2 separate regions of the Homo sapiens genome follow, and region 1 is linked to region 2. Evidence: promoter capture Hi-C in 16 types of primary human blood cells and fetal thymus (Javierre and others, 2016). All regions are on one chromosome and are shown on one strand. Each heading gives the region's core, a stretch centred on a gene start or on the middle of the fragment in contact. The rest is flanking DNA. Distances are from core to core; before and after follow the strand shown. Region 1 overlaps PDILT (protein disulfide isomerase like, testis expressed). Region 2 holds the start of VPS35L (VPS35 endosomal protein sorting factor like).

Region 1 (5,497 bases), core at 2,989-5,488, 820 kb after region 2:
TACTCTGGCTTGGGAGGCTGCCTGATTCATGAATTGTTCTTTGCTCAATTAAGCTCTTCAATTTAACTTGTTTTAAGTTTTTCTTTTATCTTTATTATTCTTTTTATTTATTGTATTTCTTTTTGAGACAGGGTCTTGTTCTGTTGCCCAGGCTGGAGTACAGTGGTTTAATCAGCACACTGCAGCCTCAACCTCCCAGATTCAATCCTCCTGCCTGAGCTTGCTGAGTAGCTAGGACTGCAAGAACTTGCCACCATGCTTGAATAACTTTTTTTTTTTTAAAGATGTAGACTCACTATGCTGCCCAGGCTGGTCTCGAACCCTAGGCATAAGGCTTCTTCCCTCATTTTATACTGTTGATCTAGGATGGTATCAATAAAGATAGAAATGAATGGTTAAAGAGATATTTTGGTTATAAAATCAGTAGGGTTGTGGTGATGGATTGCTTATGAGAGGTGAAGGAGAGGGAAGTGTTAGGATGTTGCCTGGGTTTTCTGGCTTGTTTAACTGGATGGGAGAGGTGGTTGCATCATTCCTGGAGCAAGAGAAAACACTGGGAGAGGACCTGGAGAGGAGATTATGACTTTGGGCTTAGCCATTTTGAGATGCCTGGTGTTGCACATAAAGGTCTGCAGATTAGAGAAATCTCACTGGAGATGGATATTTATAAGATGTGTGTATAGCATAGATGGTAATTGCTGATGAAGGGTAGAAGGGGAAGCATGGAGTAGAAGAAAAGAGGGCATAGGATTGAGCCTTGATGAACTGCATTTACTAGTTAAGTAAAGAGAAGGAGCTTAAGATGGTAAATGGCTGGAAAGGTTGGAGCAACACTGGGAGACTGTGACTTCACAGAAGTCAACTAGTCCAATGCCACTGAGTTCACAAGTGGCAGAACCAGAATTTGTACCCAAAGCTCATACGATTCCACTACTTTGAACCAGAGACCTCTCACTAGCAATAGGATCAAAATCCTACCTTTTTGAACACCAGGACGCTGTCAAGGGTGACGTGGAAACGCCCAATGACATTGCCAATCGTTATGACTCCAAACGTTAGCTCTGGAAAGTCTTTGATCACATCATAGAACAACTCTGCTACTTCTTCCTCTAAATCCTATTTGGGAAAGGATGTTTGGAAAGGCTTTGGTAGAAATCAAGGTGCCTGGTTTATATAAGGGAAAGACGGCAGTGGTGGCTGATTCGTCTCTTCACTTTTTCAAGTTCTGGGGTTTGCCTGGGTCACCCAAATCCTCTTTCATGAGTATTTCATACTCAAAATGCTTCTCTGGCTATGAATAAAGCCAAAATAGGCAAGTCCTCAGAGATCAACAGAGAGAAATGATAAATGTGACCTTTTCCAATCTCTAAAGGGTGTTCTAACCCAATGAGACTTTTAACATTTATTCCTTAGTTACTTTCAGAAGAGGCAATTGATTTTACCACATGTAATACAAAATGTGAACTTAATGTCAAGAATTTCAGCCTTCATTCTTTAGCTTGAAAGAAAATCAAGGCCAAACACCTCTCAAAGAAGTAACAAGGGGTGAGGGAGAGAGGCAGATAGTCTCTCTGTGTTAAATATAATGCCCAAGTTCTGCCTTCTACTGGGAGGAGAGAAGTCACCAACTTATAGCAAAAGAATTAGGACACATGAGAAACTCATTCTCCTAAAGCAAAAACAATTAGCAAGTTATTTATAAACATTAAAAAATCTACATGAAAGGCTATTATGAGACGTTTCATGATTGTATCTAAGTTACTTATGTTCTTCCCCAAACATCTCCTACTGCACCTCTAAGGGTTGGTGTATTTTCGAATGAGTGCATGTTTATCCTGTGCTATCGGTTTTAATATATGAGGATGCTTGGAAAGAGGTTAGGGAGAGAAACTGGCCTGGCCCAAGCATGGCTGGTGGCCTTCAGATTCATAGAGAACAATGGCTCTGAAACCAGAAACTAAGACATCCTTTTATTAAGTGATGTTCTAAATGGACCCCTAAAATGATTAGCCACACTGTTAAAACCCATTAAATACAGATGCCAATCTTCTCTCTTTTCTTTCCATTCCTGTTCATTTGAACCCTTGGAGCTTCCCCTAAAAACCAGATCATTGGATGGAGAAAATTGGGCAATCAAAACGGAAGAGTCTCCTCACACCACCCCCTCCCAGACACAGCACTTCTCATCAGTTGAAAGCCTCCTCCCACCTCTTGGTCCCAGTACCTGGAAGAAGCCAACGATGACCAAGGGCCTGGATATCACAAACTCTGCCACCTGCTCGCTGCTGTTGAACAAAAATGCTTTCTGGCTAATTTGTCGTCTCAACCAAACGACTAAGGCAGCAGATTCAACCACTCCTGGAGAAAGACACAGTCAAATAGATACCAGAGAAGTTTCCTCTTGAACCAAAGCAAGAAGCTGGTCTTTCTCAAGTTTAATGCATAGAACCTTCTTGTCTCAGGCTCCCACCCCTTGAAGGCCAAAGTCAGTTCCTCCATTCCCCTCTTCCCCAAGCTCCAAGCACGAACATTAACAACAGCAGCTAAATGTTACTGAGCACTCAACAAGGCCCAGACACTGTGCTGAACGTTTTGCATATATTAAATCTTCACAATAATCCTATGAAATAGACACTTTTACTCTCCCCATTTTGCAGATGAAGAAACCAAGGTTCAACTGCCAACAGGCACCCAACTAGAGAACCTGAAGATCAAATTTAGGAGGAGGCATTTCCAGACTTCTTTTCTTATGAACTCTCCAAGGTGACAGGAAGATTGATTTATATTTTAAAATCTCAATAAAATATAACTGGAAAGACCACATAGCTCTGTAACCTTGGGAAAATCCTATTATCTTCCTGCAGCCCCCATTCCTCAGCTGAGATCCAAATGCCCTTTAAGGTCATCCACTCCTGACTGCCATTTCTCAGCTATAGCATGGTTGGTGTCAAGCACACAAAAGTCTTAGCTTCCAAAATTAAGACACATATACTATATCTGGGAAGACAAATTGGTGAGCCAGAAGGTACAGAAGGCTATACACAGGTGAACGTGTGTTTTTCTAGGATTATCAGTTTCACATGATGGAAAGTAATGTAAAATATTATATATTTGTATCTGCTATAGAACATTAAAACTGAACATTTTAAATAAGTTTATGAGCTAAGCATGGTGGCCTATGCCTATTTCCCAGCACTTTGGGAGACTAACGCAGGAGAATCACTTGGGGCCAGGAGTTTGGGACCAGTCTGGGCAACATAGCGAGACACTCAGCTCTACAAAAAACAAAAGAAAATTAGCCAGGCATGGTGGCATGTGTCTGTAGTCCCGGCTACTTGGGAGGCTGAGGCAGAAGGATTGCTTGAGCCCAGGAGTTCAAGGCTGCAGTGAGCTACAATCAGCCTGGGAGACAGAGTGAGACCTTGTCTCTAAAATAAATAAATAAATTTATGAGATAAAGCAATATTCGTTGTGAGTAGCTTTGAACTACATCCACAGACTGTTATTCATTTACGCACTCATTTATTTCTTCCCTCATTTATTTACTTGGCAAATATGTACCGAGTGCTTACTATCAAGTGCTGTACTCAGCCCTGGAGATATAAGGATGAACAGAAACAAACACATTACCACCATTTCACAGCTCTCATTCTGTCGAGGAAGACAACAATCAAATAAATGCATGAACAAGGGCATCATTACACCCAAAGGAAATGTTTGAAATCAAAGTTCTGCGAGTCTGTAGCAAAGATGCCTGACTTAGACTGTGAAGTCAAGGAGGACTTCCTGGAGGAAATTATGGATGAGCTGTAAAATAAAGAATGCACTGGGCCAGGCGCAGTGGCTCATGCCTGTAATCCCAGCACTTTGGGAGGCCGAGGAGGGCGGATCACAAGGTCAGGAGATCGAGACAATCCTGGCTAACACAGTGAAACCCCATCTCTACTAAAAATACAAAAAATTATCCAGGCATGGTGGCACACGCCTGTAATCCCAGCTACTTGGGAGGCTGAGGCAGGAGAATCGCTTGAACCCAGGAGGTGGAGGTTGCAGTGAGCCAAGTTCGCACCACCGCACTCCTGCGCGGGAGATAGGGCAAGACTCTGTCTTTAAAAAGAAAAAAAAAAAGAAAGAAAGAAAAGAATGCTCTGGAGTTAACTAGGAGGCATTAAGGAGAGGGAAAGTCTTCTAGGAGAAACAGCCTATACAAAGTCCTGCAGCAGGACAAATTGCTACCTGAGGCTGGATGAATGCACCCTGAGCTACTAAATCAACTGCAAAGGCTCTACCTTCGTTATATTTGTTTTATTTCATGAGAACATGAAGGCTTTTCAAAAACTTATAATAAAGTATATTTACATGCAGAAAGGTGCATAAATGATAATGTATGGTTAGATGGATTTTTACAAAACGAACACACTTGTGTGACTACAACCCAAATCGAGAACTAGAACATCACCAGATCCTCAGCAGTCCCTGTTGTGCCCACTCCCAGCCTCTACTCCCCTCAATCCAAAAGTAACCACCACTCTAACTACTTCTTCTTCTCCTTCTTCTCCTTCTTGTTCTTCTTCTGCTTCCTCTTCCTCTTCTTCTCCTTCTTCTTCTTTTTATTTTACCTTAAGTTCTGGGATACATGTGTAGAACATGCAGGTCTGTTACATAGGTATACATGTGCCACGGTGCTTTGCTGTACCTATCAACCCATCACCTAGGCTTTAAGCCCCGCGTGCATTAGGTATTTGTCCTAATGCTCTCCCTTCCCTCGCCCTCCACTCCCAGACAGGCCCCAATGTGTGATGTTCCCCTCCCTGTGTCCATGTGTTCTCATTGTTCAACTCCCACTTATGAGTGAGTGTGTTTGGTTTTCTGTTCCTGTGTTAGTTTGCTGAGAATGATGACTTCCAGCTTCATCCATGTCCCCGCAAAGGACACGATCTCATTCCTTTTTATGGCTTTGTAGTATTCCATTGCCACCTTAACTTGTAACAGATTACATTAGTCTGCCTGTTCCTGAACTTCATATAAATGTTCTTGGCTCTGGTTTCATTATGTTTGTGAGATTCAGCCACAGTTTTTCATGTACTTGAAGATTCATTTCCACTGCTGTGAATATCCCACAACTTATTTGTCCATTCTCTGCTAATGGGCATTTAGTTGCTCTCATTTTAGGGCATTTTTTTTTTTTGAGACAGTTTATCCTTCTGTCACCCAGGCTAGAGTGCAGTGGTGTAGTCGTGGCTTACTGCAGCCTCGATCTCCCAGGCTCAAGCCATCCTCCCACCTCAGCCCCCTGAGTAGCTGGGACTACAGGCATGTACCACCACACCTGGCTAATTTTTATTTTTTGAGACAGAGTCTTGCTCTGTTGCCCAGGCTGGAGTGTAAGGGCTCAATCTTGGCTCACCGTACCTCTGCCTCCCGGGTTCCAGTGATTCTCCTGGCTCAGCCTCCCGAATAGCTGGGACTACAGGCACGTGCCACCACACCCCACTAA
Region 2 (5,855 bases), core at 1,692-4,191:
ATTGTTTTCTCCAATTTTCTGTGCCATTTTAAATTTAACTTTGACATCCAGCTATAGACAGAAATAATAAGCCACCCTGGGTGTAAACTTGATTTTCTTTATTGAGATGTATCATGTATTGAATGAGTGAACCAGAAAATTAGAAGATGGTCAAAAAAAGTCCAAGTTACCAATTTTTTAAAATTTATAGGCAAAGTATCAAATTGTCTTCTTAATATGATAAACTGTGCTTTATCATTCTGAAAACTCAGGATACAGCTTATTCATAGCATTGTGGGTCTCTCCAGTAAGAAAGATGCTAAAAGTTTTGTGCACTTTTTGTGTGTGTAATGCAAATTAGTTAAAACAAATAGTTTTGGAGAAAGTTAAAACTAGCTTTAGAGTAAGGATGAGAAACTTGAGTGTTTTTAATTTAAAGATAAAAGCCTGTGTTTTACACATTCTTTTTTGGTGTTCATAGCTTCTTCTCATACAGGTGCCAGACACTGTTTGTGCTTTTGATGGATTTTTATTTATATACTTTTTTTGCTTATTTTTACTTTGAGTGGAATGTTCATTAATGTAAATTGTATTTATTTTTATACTTTTATTTTCACTAGTTTTGCTTCTAGGCAAAAAGCAAAATAAACTTTTCATCTTAAAGAAAATCTAGTTTGATTGTTTTTATTTACCAGGGGAAGGACTATTAAGAAATAGGCCGGGCATGGTGGCTCATGCCTGTAATTCTAGCACTTTGGGAGGCCAAGGTGGGTGGATCATGAGATCAGGAGTTTGAGATCAGCCTGGCTAACATGGTGAAACCCCGTCTCTACTAAAAATACAAAATTAGCTGGGCGTAGTGGTGCATGCCTGTAGTTCCAGCTACTTGGGAGGCTGAAGCAGGAGAATCGCCTGAGCCTGGGATGGGGAGGCTATAGTGAGCCGAGATTGTGCCACTGCACTGCAGCCTGGGTGACAGAGCAAGACTCCATCTCAAAACAAAACAAAAAAGAAACCGATATTAGCCAGGCATGGTGGTTCACATCTGTAGTCCTAGGTACGCTGGAGGCTGAGGCAGGAGGATCACTTGAACCCAGGAGTTACAGGTGGCAGTGAGCTATAATCGCACCACTGCACTCCAGCCTGAATGAGACTTTGTCTCCAAAACAAAAAAGAAAAAAGAAACAGATATTGAAAAGTATTAGGCCAAAACAAATATTGTATATAATCATTCTTTACAAGTTCCATGAAAGATATATCTCATTATTTAATATGTCCCCTGGGCCAGGTGCAGTGGCTCACGCCTGTAATCCCAACACTTTGGGAGGCCAAGGCGGGAGGATCACCTGAGGTCAGGAGTTTGAGACCAGCCTGGCCAACATAGTGAAACCCCGTCTCTACTAAAAGTTGGACTTTTCAGAAGGTAAAACTCAGGCTGGAAATGTCTTAACTTATTAAGAGATAGAAGCCTGCTAAGGGAAGGAGAGGGAGAAAAGAGAATGCGAAGGTTGAAGCTCACATCAAAGCTGTTAATTTGCACAACTTTAAGAATCCTCCTCTTGTTACTGCCTAATCATGCAGTGTGAGCCTAGGAAAAGGCTCCTCACCTTGACCTCTTATTGAGATGTTGCATGTGATAACATGCATGGCTGTATGGGAAGAGCTCCTTGCTTTCCCGTGGCCACCCTTTAACCCTTGTTCACTTCCAGTGTTGGGAATAGCAGGTACGAGTGGATATACTTTCCTACTCATACTGAGCTGAACACTGGAGGGCCCGTTCTGGAGATGATCCTTTTCCCTGTCATAGGTCACCATCTCATGAACAACCACAGACCACCACCCCCGAATGAAAAGTAAGAGTTATAAAAACATCGAATGCTTTCTCTCTAAGGGACCATAATGGATATCTAAGTAAGTTATAAAAGTAATAATTAAAAAAAAAATTTTTTTTTGAGATGGAGTTTCGCTCTTGTAGCCCAGGCTGGAGTGCAATGGCGCAATCTCGGCTCACTGCAACCTCATCCTCCCGGGTTGGAGCAATTCTCCTGCCTCAGCCTCCCGAGTAGCTGGGATTACAGGCGCCCGCCACCATACCCAACTAGTTTTTGTATTTTTTAGTAGAGACGGGGTTTCACCATGTTGGCCAGGCTGGTCCCGAACTCCTGACATCAGGTGAACCACCCACCTCGGCCTCCCGAAGTTCTGGGATCATAGGCCTGAGCCACCGCTCCCGGCCTAAAATAATTTTTAAAAACGTTCTGTGGTCGAAATGGATATCCACCTTCCTAGAAACACTGCTTTGCCAAGTTGGACGAAATGCGAACCCTAATTTCCCCACGTGCATTAGCTGTAGTCAATCATATTAGATCTAGGGCAGCCCTCGGTTGCTAGTCGTGGGAAGGGCATTCTGCAAGTGTCTAAAACCGCCCGCAAAGCAGTGGGTAAAGCAGCGGCCTAGAGGGGGCATGGCTGTCCCACGCCAAACAGCGTATTAGCCGCAAAACCAGGTACTGGCTGAACCTCAGTTTGCGTCTTCGCTCCGCCGCCTTCTGGAGTCCTTTCTGCCCCTAGAGGACGCAGGTGAGCTAAGCAGCAGTCATGCCCTTTACCATCATGACGCCCGCAGGCGGGACCACCCGGCACTGTAGACAGCTGCCCTTTACAATCATGACTCATAGAAACTACGGCACTCTGGCCGTGGCCGACGTTGCTCCTCCGAAGCATGGCGCCGGCGGGAGTTGTAACCCGGGCTGTCCGGAGCGGGGAGCTGCCCCTCACAAGCATGGCGTCAGCTGAAAATGAAGCCTGTGCTGTGCGGAGCGTCGCCTGCCCCTCACAAGCATGGCGTCTGCAGAAGGTGCTGTGCGGCCGCTGCGGGGCGGCCAGCTGCCCTTCACAAACATGGCGGCCGAGGGGTGCGGGGAGTGGCGGGGTAAGGATGGGAAGCCGAGCAGACGGCCCCAGAACAAGCGGTCATGTGACTGGGAAGATGGCCGTCTTTCCTTGGTAAGGAAGCAGCGGCGGGTGGGCTTTGGAGAGGGGCTGTCCTTACTTGTGATGGGGTCGGCCTGGGTCTGAGAGTGTGAATTCCTCTCTGTCGGGTTCTGGTGGTCGACCGGCCACCCCCAAGTTGTCTTGACCGTAGAATCCCTGGCCGCTACCGCGGTCCAGCGGAGCAATCTGAAGCCAGACTGGCGGGTTCTTGGTTCTCTCCCCGTCTGCTGCCTCTCTGCGCCTTCCACGGGCCCCTGTCCATTCATTCCCTAAAGAAAACTTGAGTTTCCAGGCTTCCGCGTCCCCAGAAGTTGGCGCGGGTTCTGGGGTCGCTGGATGAGGGTAATGGTGGACTCAGCTTTTAAAGTCTGGACGAGTCGGGAGATCTGGCTGTTGGTCAGTTTCCTCAGCTCCTCTGTTCACCTGGAGACTTGCTTTTCTCATCTGTAAAATGGCCGCCATTCATCCTATCCTAGGCACAGCCCTCAGACTTATTCCTTGGCCTCAAGGAGCTGACAGTATAATGGGGCAGACGCACAGTAGAGGGATGTCTAAAGAAGGCATTCGGATGAGGCACCAAGAAGGGAGTGATTATCCCCACCAGGGGGCTAGGGGAAGGCTTCAGAGAGGAGGAGTTAAATTGGGTCTTGGAGGATGAATAGGAGTCCACCATAGGGAGGGCGTGGCGTGTGCCTGGTTGGCAGGCCCGTAGGTCCCTTGTGGTTGGAGTAGCTAGGAATGAGTGACTGAAGCTTCAGGGTTCAGCAGGTGGTATGTGTGTGAGTGAAGAACTTGAGGAAGTTGTGTTGTTGATGATAGTGGGATTTGGGGACGGGGAATCTCTCCTGCATCTCAGAAAGCGAGATAATTTACTTTCTCTTCAAATGATGTGAAGTAGCTTAGATTAAATGAGCAAATGAAAGACCTTAGAAATAATCAGGTACAACCTTCTGCTTTTGAGCTTGATAAACACTTCATTTTGTCTTATTCCTTTCATTTGCCCAACACTTAAGAGACTGCTTCCTTGACACGCTACATCAGCATTGAATGCCTCTGAGCACTTCCACACCCTGAGGTTTTTTTTTTTTTTTCAGTTAATAGTCATGCTGGCTGGGTATGGTGGCTCACGCCTGTAATCCCAGCACTTTGGGAGGCCGAGGCTGGCGGATCACCTGAGGTCAGGGGTTCGAGACCAGCCTGGCCAACATGGCGAAACCTAATCTCTACTAAAAATACAAAAATTAGCTGGGCTAAATTAGTGGTGGCACGCACCTGTAATCCCAGCTACTTGGGAGGGTGAGGCAGGAGAGTCGCTTGAACCTGGGAGGCGGAAGCTGGAGTGAACCGAGATCATGCCACTGCACTCCAGCCTGGGCAACAGTGAGACTCTGTCTCAAAAAAATAATAATAAAAAATGAAAAAGTCATGCTGGCTTGACCAAAAAGCTAACCAAAAACATGAGAAACATTTGACTTCAGTGGATTTATCTGAAGTTTGCAATCAGAAAATCCAGGAAGATGCTGTCTTAATCTCTGCATCCCAGTACATTTCTACCTTTGGAATTTTAATTTTATATTACAAGCAGGCAAACAGGTGCCATAACGCTTTTAGTATTTAGGGTCTCTATAGTTCCTAATATGGCCGTGCTCTAAATATTTTGTTGTTGTTGTTTTTGTTGAGACGGAGTCTCGCCCAGGCTTGATTGCAGTGGCGTGATCTTGGCTCACCGCAACCTCCGCCTCCCGGCTCAAGTGATTCTTTGCCTCACTCTCCCGAGTAGCTGGGATTACAGGCGATGCCACCACACCAGGCTAATTTTTGTATTTTTAGTAGAGACGGTGTTTCATCATGTTGGCCAGGCTGGTCTCGAACTCCTGACCTTAAGTGATCCGCCGACCTCGGGTTCCCAAAGTGCTGGGATTACAGGCGTGAGCTACCACACCCGGCCCGTGCTCTGAACATTTCCTTTTGAAGTATGCATTCATCTTTCAGTTTCCCTAATAGACTTCTTGCTCCTTAAAAGTTAAAAGGACTGGCTGGGCGCGGTCACTCATGCCTGTAATCCCAGCACTTTGGGAGGCCGAGGCAGGCGGACCACCTGAGGTCAGGAGTTCCAAGACCAGCCTGCCCAACGTGGTGAAAGCCCGTCTCCACAAAAATACAAAAAGTAGCCAGGCATGACGGCAGGTTCCTGTAATCCCAGCTACTTAGGAGGCTGAAGTGGGAGAATCGCTTGATCCCGGGAGAATCACTTGATCCCAGGAGGCGGAGGTTGCAGTGAGCCAAGATCGTGCCATTGCACTCCAGCCTGAGCTACTAAGCGAGACTCCGTCTCAAAAAAAAAAAGTTAAAGGGACTGAGTTTTGTCCATCTTTGTATGTGGAGCCTAGAACATAATGGTGAGTGCTGAATAATATTTATGAATGAATGAGGAAACTGAGGAGGACTGCAGAGGAGAAATGAGTTTCTGTCATTAAATTTACATTTATCAAGTCCTTATTTTCTGTCAGACATCACTCGTAAAGTGCGTAACATGTAACATCATTAGGTTCTTATAACAACCCCATGTTGCGGAGGAAGAAATAGAGGCAGAGAGATGAAGCAGTTTACTTAAATTAGCCCCACAAGGGATAGCTGAGGTTTGGAAGCCAGAGGCTATGATAGTAATCATCCTCATCAGCTGGACTTCAAATCTATATCCTGGGCTGAGGTTTCTGGCTTGCGGGGTTCCCCAAATCCCACTGCCTTGTCATGGGTCTCCCCAGGAATGCCTCTTTTTACCCACAGTTTTTGCTATCCCTGCTATATTTTGGCCTGGCTAGGAGATGAGATGTCCTGTATACCCTAGATCACATTTTCCGTTTAATCCTGTGGTTATAGCA

What was found. The method cuts DNA at HindIII sites, captures the fragments that hold promoters and counts their contacts. A CHiCAGO score of 5 or more calls a contact.
Region 1: a fragment that was not itself captured here is called in contact with the fragment with the promoter of VPS35L in region 2 in 1 of 17 cell types (total CD4 T cells); the score reaches 5.2 in total CD4 T cells.

What each region holds. Positions count from the first base shown.
Region 1 is chr16:20,373,844-20,379,340 of GRCh38, forward strand. PDILT (protein disulfide isomerase like, testis expressed) reads right to left here. Exons shown (of 12, transcript NM_174924.2): 4 at 2,225-2,358; 5 at 979-1,116. Among named protein-coding and RNA genes, the nearest start is that of UMOD, 24 kb to the left of the region's middle. The HindIII fragment of the contact is 9,970 bases long and covers 1-5,497 here.
Region 2 is chr16:19,552,762-19,558,616 of GRCh38, forward strand. It overlaps VPS35L (VPS35 endosomal protein sorting factor like), which reads left to right and starts at 2,942. Exons shown (of 31, transcript NM_020314.7): 1 at 2,942-2,985. The coding sequence starts at 2,969. It overlaps CCP110 (centriolar coiled-coil protein 110), which reads left to right. Exons shown (of 14, transcript NM_001323572.2): 14 at 1-647. RefSeq lists enhancers at 2,537-3,016, 2,576-3,538, 3,397-3,626. The HindIII fragment of the contact is 7,423 bases long and covers 1-3,723 here.